Linked DNA regions of Homo sapiens: all the other regions are linked to region 2. The links are contacts of gene promoters, found by promoter capture Hi-C in human tissues and cell types (Jung and others, 2019). All regions are on one chromosome and are shown on one strand. Each heading gives the region's core, a stretch centred on a gene start or on the middle of the fragment in contact. The rest is flanking DNA. Distances are from core to core; before and after follow the strand shown.

Region 1 (2,867 bases), core at 302-2,801, 49 kb after region 2:
AGCAAGGATAAAATAATCTCATATATATGTTTGAAAACCATTACAAAGGCATAAAAGATTAGTACTAATTCCTGGGGAGGGGGAGCAGAGTGCTAAATTCTTAAATTTTAAAGTTATAAAGAAACTGTCTACATAAAATTTTTCTTGAGCATTCAGAAATTAAGTATAGCCTTTGATACTGTAGTCCTTTCATAACTGGAGAGAACGGAGAATTGCAAGCACTTACTACCATTTATTTAGTAACTTCTGGGTTTTATAAAAGTTCAATCTTCAAAGCCATAACTCTAAAATAACTAAAACTTAGAAGATTTAAGTTTTAATCTATTTCTGGATCACAGAGCCTATTAAATAAATCTACTAAAAATAGTTAAAAGTACAGCTTTTTTTCATTTTTTTGTACCAAATATCTATTTAGGGTAATTTGTTTATACGATTCTGAAATTTTTATGAAAACTTGCTATGAATATTTAGTAATTGTGTTATTATTTAGAGCTATGAGACTAAAGTCATATGTAGATTTGCTTTGTTTAATTATACCTTTTCTAAATAGAAATAAATTTAGAACTTAATAATGCAACATTAAAATTAGACTTTTTATATACAAAAGACAGGAAATATAAAGAAAATATTTCTTAGGGAAATATGCTTTCTCTTGATCTAATTCAGATCTTGTGCCATTACATTATTTTCTACAAGTCCTGGTCTTACTGAGAATTGTGCCTTGTGGAATTCCCTGTTCAACTTCCTATCCTATGTCAAAAGGGAGGAGGTGATCCTTTTTTCTCTAATTGGATGAGACCTAGAACACAGTTTAGCAAAGCGTTAAACAAAAAGGAATTGTAAGTTTATGCCAGTGTGGACTGGTGAGAAGAATAACTCTTAAATGACGCAGGTAGAGAACAAGTCTGAGATCTTAACTCAAGGGGTGGTAATTAAGAACCATTGGAAGACAGAGGGGGTTTAGAAGGCACATTGCAAGACACAGTACTTTTGGGAGGGAAACTCACTGCTTGAGTAAATAGGGAACTCAAACAAGGAAGTATGGCAAGGATGAAACCTGCAAGGCTATTACAAAGTTTTACTTACCACGTATTTAGTTTGTTTAAATATACTAATCTTAACAAAGTATGGAAGCTTATTATATATTTCTATAATTTTATTTTCTCAAGTCTAAATCATCCTTTATCTTTTCACCTTCTCTATGGCTCTCATATTCCAATACTTGGTTACTCTCATCTGAACTTTCTCTAAGCTTTCTTCCTCTCCTGAGTTGTTAAGGATTTTAGTACAAACCATGATATATATTAGAGTCAGCTGAGTACAATAAGACAAAAATCCAGTGGTTCAGACTTTAACTTGCTCTTATGAAAGATCTTTGTGTTACAGGCTGATTTTTTTCAAACAAAATTGCATGCTGGGCCTGACCTGTTTTTGCCCCTCGTTGACCTTGTATTCTCTCTCAGCTTTGGAAGACCCTTTTATGGATCAGCAGTATGAATGAATACACTTCATAGTAATCACATACAATAGATTGATGCTGTTATGCATCAGTTAGTTGATAGAAAAAAAAGCTGAAGTGATTGCCTAAGGGCAAAGAAATATGGTAATCTTAAAACTTTGTGTTGACATTTAGATGCAAAATCCAGCTATTCAAAGTAGTCTAGGCAATTCCCATGATGTCATGTCACCAGGATGAGTTTTCAGAGTCCAGAACTCATTATTGTTTTCCAGTGGTACATAAAGTTCTGGCTACCCTTCCTTTTGTAGGTATAGGTAAGTAGACAGGCATCTGAAAGTAAATGGAAGGTGGGTGACAAATTGACTCACGCTAAGAGGTACATGAGATGAAAGTAAACATCAAAAGGCTCTTGCATTAATTTACAGTGAGAAATATAACACCACATGTACAAGAAATATCACATTGGCCTGATCAAAACATTTTTTTTTTTACTTGTGGCCCAATCACATAGAAATCAAAAGATGGTTTTGTGAGCACAGACTCAAAAAAACAGGATGTAGATAAATCAAATCTTTAATTCATTGTTTCCCAAAATGCGTTATGTTCTGTGAGATGTTTTAATACATCTTCCAACAACGACAAAAAGTTCACTAATACAATAAATGTGAGAAACACTGGATTAAACTCAGATTTCATAACTGCATTCTTTCCTTTGGACTGCAGATATACATTGTGAATCTCAAAGGGCTCAGACAGACAGCTTTTCTAAAGTGCATTTGACTCCTGTCTATATAGATTACTTATCAATAGCTCACGAAACAATACTATTCTACAGATATAGTTTCAGAATGAATGAATTCTTAGTCTGATGTATAATTCTACCATAAAGATAATCTTGCCAATGGGCCTGGTATATTTGAAATGCAAGGATAAATCTCTGAATTATTCATTCTAGGGACATACTGTCCATGAGATCTAAAATAATCAGTCTCTGTTTTGAGTCTCCCTTTCCATTTTAGAGCTTAGGTGAGCACTACCAATATGAACCTATGTCATTCTCCTTCTGCTTTAATTTGATTTAATTTTACTAGTGATTAAGACACTGAAGAGGTTACAGTATGGGTTTGCTTGCCTACAAATAATATCTTCTTCAGATGATTTTGCATACCTTTATTGTAAATTAGGTGTTGATTTTTAAATGTGACTCTAAATTACTCTATGTTCTTTATTTTCAATGTTAGAGTCCTGCCACACTATAACACCTAGATGCTTATTAAAAGTGTATAACCAGGCTGGGCATGGTGGCTCCTGCCTGTAATCCCAGCATTTTGGGAGGCCAAGGCAGGCAGATCGCCTGAGGTAAGGAGTTTGAGACCAGCCTGGCCAACATGGTGAAGCTCCATCTCTA
Region 2 (2,915 bases), core at 108-2,607:
GCAATTACGGTTTTTGGTTTTTGGAGCGTTAGTGGAGGAGGCTCTGTGTGGAGAAGCTGGGGGCCGGCTCCGTCCCTCGGTGGAGCATGGTCATTCCCAAAGCGTCCCCTTCCTAAGGGGGAAAAAGAGGCGGTCAGGGCTTGATTCGCGTGTCCCCCGGAGGGTGAGAAAAATGCATTCCGAAAAAGATATCAATTCGTTTTAAGGAAAGGGGGGAGGAAACCCCGCATTTCCCACAGAGTGCACACGAGAGGAATTGAAAACAGCTGGTACCGGTCTATAAATAATTCAGAAAAGGTCTGGCTATACCATTCCTGGGACAGGCACGGATGAGAGGTGGGAAAGCCAACCTGAATGGAAGAGGAGAGAGGGAGGGAGCGAGCGAAGGAGGGAAGTGGGAAGGAAGGAGGAAGGGGGGGAGAAGCGGCACCATACAGCAACACACACTCACACACACGCAGAAACACAATTCCCACTTAACTCGCCAGCGAGTGCGGCCCCCAGCCCCATCTGCATTGCTGCTGACTTGTCTCGCTCGCTCTCCCCATCGCCTCCAGCAGCAGCGCCGCCTCCCACCCCGGGCTTGTGCTGAATGGGTTCTGATTGTGCACGGGGTGCACACTGGGCATTTCTTGGAAGGGGCACACTGACGCGCGCACACACGCCCCCGACGCGCACGCGCCCCGCGCGCACTCACACTCACCCCCGCGCACACTCACCCCCGCGCACACTCACGCTGCCGCCGCGCTGAGGTGCAGCGCACGGGGCTTCACCTGCAACGTGTCGATTGGACGGATGGGCTCGGCGCGTGGGTCCGGCCCGGGGCGCCGCTGCCCTGCCCCTCTGCTAGGTGAAGGGATGAAACCCCCCAAAAGACCAGAGACAGCCCTACCCAGTCACAGCACCCCCTCCCCCACAAAAAAAAAAAACCTTTAAAAAAGCCACGTCCAAATTAGCAAGTGCCGGGTTCTGCTGGATTTCAGAGCTTTACCTCATGCCAGATTCGTTCACGATTTCACGGCTTCGACCCTTTATCTGCCTGACACCCCCAAACCCCTACATTCAAAGGAGAGACTCCAAAGCCCATCTTTACGTACCGGCTCCGAGCGCCTCCGCGGTTGCAGTCTGCGGAGAGGGGTGGCCGGTGGCTGGGAATGGAGGGTTTTCCTTTCCTGCAAAGCAGGATTAATGATCCGTCTCGGGGGTTTTGAAGTTCATGACTCTTCTTTGCAAGGCAAAAGGATATGCATTCGGACGCCAGCACTACTGGATGGTGGTGATCAAGAATCACCCTTGACGAGCACTCTCGATAGAGCGAAGCCCCGAGATTTCCTAGAGGTGAAGAAGCCGGAGGAAGTGGTTTTTGAAAGGGGGTGGGGGGAACCTTCCTTTCTCAAAAAGAGGTGGGGGGTGGAGAGGCAGGAGCCCAGATTCCAGTTGGTGAGGATCGGAGCCGGGGGAAGGGAAGCGGGCGGGGGCAGGCTGTGCAAGTCAACCGCGCGGCAGCCGGAGAGGGAGAGCAGGAGGGGAGGAGGGGAGCGTCAGAAAAATGGGTATTAATCACCGGGGACGGGGGGAGGCGCGGGGAACGCAGGTTGCCTGGTCTGGATTTGGGTCTCACACTCAAAAACGTGCCGCGCACACACACACAGACACACACACACCCCCTACCTCGCACACCCTGACTCCGGGGGGAGGAGAAACCCACGAAGCTGGGGAAGATACTGCTTCTGCTCCCAGGGGCGGGTGTGAGCGCGCGTGTCCTCTTTCTCCACACCCCCCACCCCACCCCACCCCCAAGCCCCTGCACCCCCTCACTCCTCTTGCTAAGACTCTGGCGGAGGCAGCTTCCCACGTCATGTGCTGGGGAAGTGGGGTGGTAAGGTGGATGGAAGGGGGACGGAAGGGGGAAGAAGCTTAGCCCGAGTCCGTGGCGCCTCCTCCCGGCCGCAGCGGGGAACAGCACCGACGGAGAGCGGCTGAGGGGCGAGGGGAGCTAGACAGTGCCCCCCGTGGGCGGCCCGCGGGCTGCGGAAAGCATCTCCAAGGCGGAGCTGTAGTTCGAAATTGAAGACCCTTGCTGTATTTTCCATAAATCAGCCTGTGCTTCCTACGAGCATTCTGTGTGTCGGACGCAGTCTGGGACCGGGTTCTTTCTTGCCTTCAAGGAGCTTAAGATCTATCTGAGCACACGAGGCTGACGCCTAACACAATAGAAAACAAAGCAAAGCAGGTGTCATTCGTGGCTAAATTGTATAGTATGGACCATACGCGTGCTTTTCTGGCTGCTAGTGAAGGCGGGAGGAGTTTGACATTTTTTATTAAAGTGGATCCTGTTATTTAAATGCCTTGAGAAGAGAAGATGGTGAGGCCCGTGAATAATCCCTAAAGGAAACTGGATTTCCTGGCATTTACAAACCCACCCTCTTTGAAAAGGCAAACATCCATTCATTTCTCTTCCTATTGAACTCTTTTATATTTTAATAGCCCTTATCACCACCTGTAGTATTGTTTACTTTTAACATTAATATTATTGTATATGCATCATTTTCATTCTCATCCATTGTCTTTTCAAATATCTAGAATACTACAGTGGTGGAACATTTTCATATTGGTTATATCATGGGCTTCTCACCAGCATTCCTGAGAAGCGGCCATACAAACGCACAGGAGAGAAGGCTGTGTGAGTGGATATACCTAGTGGCTTGGAACTTTAGTCTGTAGAAGCCATCAGATATGTTTTTGCTGTCCTGTAGACCAGACTACTCATACTTCTGAGCTACAGTAATTCTTCTGTTTCCTGGTTTTTCTCAGGCTTAATTTTTGAATCTAACATATTTAACACACACGAACACATAAGCATTGTGTGAAAACACAAATAGAGTGTGTTCACATGCAAATTATTCCTTCTCAGT
Region 3 (3,225 bases), core at 296-2,795, 61 kb before region 2:
GATTCCAGGTAGAGACAATATGGCTTTTTGTTTTTTTCTTAAGGGCTTAATAATATCTCTAAAAATAACAAATGCCACGTGATGCAGTCTTTTAAGACCGTGCATCAACTTAAACTAAGTCTTTGGGTTTACTAGTGGAAAATGACAGTATCCATTTATAAGAAGGTAGGGAAGCATCCAAATGAACCCTATAAAGCTGTTGGCCAAGATCTTGCTTGAAAATTGGAAGCTGATGCGGGGATCGTCTCCCTGGAAAGGGTCCATGGCCCTCCATTCTGAACACTGATGGGAATGTGGGAGCTCAGGAACTCAAAAAAAAAGCAGACATTCTTGGGGTCATATCAGAATCACCTTGAAAATGAGAGCAACAACGATGCAGATGAACTGGCTGGAGCATTTGACGCCCTTTACCACAGGAGGAAGATCACATTCCTGCAGAGGAATACACCACAAAGCCTTGCCATCAATTCAGATTTTCTCCCTTCTGTCTTCCCTAAAGAGCTTATCTCTGAAGAGGCCTAGGGTGGTAAAAAGCCCTCAGAGGAATTCAGTCACAATCCTGGGACTAAGAGCCCGCCTCCTCACTGAAAAAAAGGAATTAGAGCTGGGTGTGGTGGCTTACACCTGTAATCCCAACTACTCAGGAGGCTGAGGCAGGAGGATCGCTTGAGCCCAGGAGTTTGAGGCCAGCCTGGGTAACATAGCAAGACCCTATCTCAAGAAAAAAAAAAAAAAACGGGGATTGGGAGAACTAGGAGGGTGGAGAGTAGGAGGTGAAGTGAAAAAATGAGAGTCAACAGAATTAAATTTCCCCAACTCACTTACGCTTCTCACAGAAGCATCATTCATTGGTACTTTAACTTCTCAAGGAAAAAATTCAAAGGAATAGAATGGAAGTAGGGAAAAGATGGGATAAGACTGCTTTATCCTAGGCAAAAACATCATTTTGTAACTGTGCAGGATATTGTTTGTTGATCCTTAGCACCATTCTCACATCTCTAAGCTCTCTTTTGCATTCCAGGTTTATGAAGCCTAGAAACTTCCTTCCTTTCCTGGATGTTTTTGCTAACAAGTTCCTGGTTAGATCCCAGCAGTGAGAGGCTCCAGACTGAGGTGGGGAAGGTGGAAGAGAAAAAGAAGCTGCTATGCTCCAGGTGCACCTGGAAGACGTCACTTTGATGTTGGCCTGTGGCAAAGGTACAGTTTTGCCGGTGACATCAGGCATCTCCTGAGAATCACCCACTTGCCTCACTGTAGCCCTTCGCTTACATTTTTCCCAAATGAAGCTTTCCTGTTCTTCACTCCTCCAGCCTTCTAAAGATTGTGTAAACCTTGAATTCCCTGTATTAAATTTCCTCTTCAAAATACCCAAGGTGGCTTCTGTGAATCCTGACTAATACATTAGTCTGCCCCATGGTTCTCAAGTTGCAGGATTTGTACCAATCCTAACGGCACCAAGGATATGTAAAACCCTAACAAAGCACAGTACGTATTCTTGAGCCATTTTACTCAATAGTAGGTAATTTTGGAAATTTATTTTTATATTGAAATAATCACTGAAACATCATAGGGAAAGGGCATATTAAAATAAAGTTTTAGGAACCAGGCATGGTAGCTCACACCTGTAATCCCAGCACTTTGGGAGGCCAAGGCAGGCAGATAATTTGAGGCCAGGAGTTCAAGATCAGCCTGGCCAATATGGTGAAACCCCATCTCTACTAAAAATACAACACATTAGCCAGCTGTGGTGGTGCAGACCTGTAGTCCCAGCTGCTTGGGAGGCTGAGGCATGAGAATCGCTTGAACCCGGGAGGCAGAAGTTGCAATGAACCTAGATTGTGCCACTGCCACTATACTCCAGCCTGGGTGACAGGAGCAAGACTATATCTCAAAAGTAAAATCAAATAAAAAAGTTTCAGGACAAAATATAAAAGCTAAGAGAAAATAACTCTTGCAGAAGGCTACTTTACCTTGCAGTCTCAACCTGAAGGATGAGCTTCCACCCTCCTCTGTAATTTCGAGTATCTTGATGGAAGAGTTTGCAACACACTGCACATCTTTCTCTCTATATGTCTATCTAAGTTTCTCTTGTGTTCCCTAAGAAGGGATTTCAGATGGTACAGCAGTATTGGGGAGGTTGAAAGTCTGTACATTCTCTGTGAACAGCAAGTCAGGTTCAATGAAGTCAGAGTTTCCATATAAATCTTTTCTTAGCCTACTGGGATGCCAGATCCTTGGTGGCAGGGAAGACACCATGTCTAATGAGCTTTGTGCCCAGCACTGTGCATCTCCAACAGTCCCTGGCCCACAGTAGGCATGCGATAGATATATTATTCCCTGAATTGAAGAATCAGTGGATAGATGGATAGGCAGATAAGTATGTACCAAGCACAAGTGGCAACAGAGGTTAAATGATAAGAAATATATATTGTTAAATATGCAACCTTGACCAAGTTATTTTGCCTCTAAGCCTTAGGTTCTGTATCAGGAAAATGAGTGTTATTATACCTATTTCTCAGGATTGTTAGGGTTGGAACGAAGGTTTGAGAGGTGGCACAAGCAAAGTACCTAGTAAGGTGTCTAGCACACAGTAAGCTCTCCTATATAATATTTATCATTATCAATTTTTACTGGATTTGAGTAGTGTAAAATATGCTTAGGTTAAACAAGTAGACTGAATCTAATTCAATCTTTCCTCAATGGTTCAGAGAGCACTAAAGTGCTTCAGCAGATCATTTGAGACATGGTGTCTCCAGTTCATTAGCCAGAGTGGCAGATAGCAGGGTGCCCTGGGTGTCTGAGCTCAAACCCCCGCTTCCACAATGGAAGGTGGAGAGAAAAAAACTAGCTCATGTTTTGGCCACATGGCAGTCTTCCAAACTGAATTGTTATTTGGGTTAGGATTACAAGATTAGTAGAGAGGAGCACACAGTCAATGAAATAATACATTTTGACTCCAGAAAAGAGACTGATACAGCAGCGCATGAAATTTCAAATGGGCAAGACTGTAAAACTCATCACAGAGGCTAAAGTCTGACTAAAGGCAAATGAATAATTATCAACGATAATGTACACAGGCAGAGGAATGCCTGGTGGGGAGCCTGTGGCACCCGTGGTAAGTCCGGTTTTATTTAACATCTTAGTTAATGATCTGGAAAAGAGACAAACAAAAAACTAAAGAGAGATGATGAAGTGGATATCTGTTGGCTTTGCCTGCTGGGCACC

The links. The method cuts DNA at HindIII sites, captures the fragments that hold promoters and counts their contacts. A contact is called where the count stands out against the background at its distance.
Region 1: a fragment that was not itself captured here is called in contact with the fragment with the promoter of GRIN2B in region 2 in 1 of the 25 tissues and cell types used here (lymphoblastoid cells).
Region 3: a contact is called between a fragment that was not itself captured here and the fragment with the promoter of GRIN2B in region 2, in 2 of the 25 tissues and cell types used here (liver and mesenchymal stem cells).

What each region holds. Positions count from the first base shown.
Region 1 is chr12:14,028,605-14,031,471 of GRCh38, forward strand. No RefSeq gene overlaps it. Among named protein-coding and RNA genes, the nearest start is that of GRIN2B, 48 kb to the left of the region's middle. The HindIII fragment of the contact is 5,625 bases long and covers 1-2,867 here.
Region 2 is chr12:13,980,245-13,983,159 of GRCh38, forward strand. GRIN2B (glutamate ionotropic receptor NMDA type subunit 2B) reads right to left here and starts at 1,358. Exons shown (of 14, transcript NM_000834.5): 1 at 1,098-1,358; 2 at 1-112. The HindIII fragment of the contact is 12,156 bases long and covers 1-2,915 here.
Region 3 is chr12:13,919,515-13,922,739 of GRCh38, forward strand. The region is part of intron 2 of GRIN2B (glutamate ionotropic receptor NMDA type subunit 2B); the gene reads right to left. Among named protein-coding and RNA genes, the nearest start is that of GRIN2B, 60 kb to the right of the region's middle. The HindIII fragment of the contact is 7,271 bases long and covers 1-3,225 here.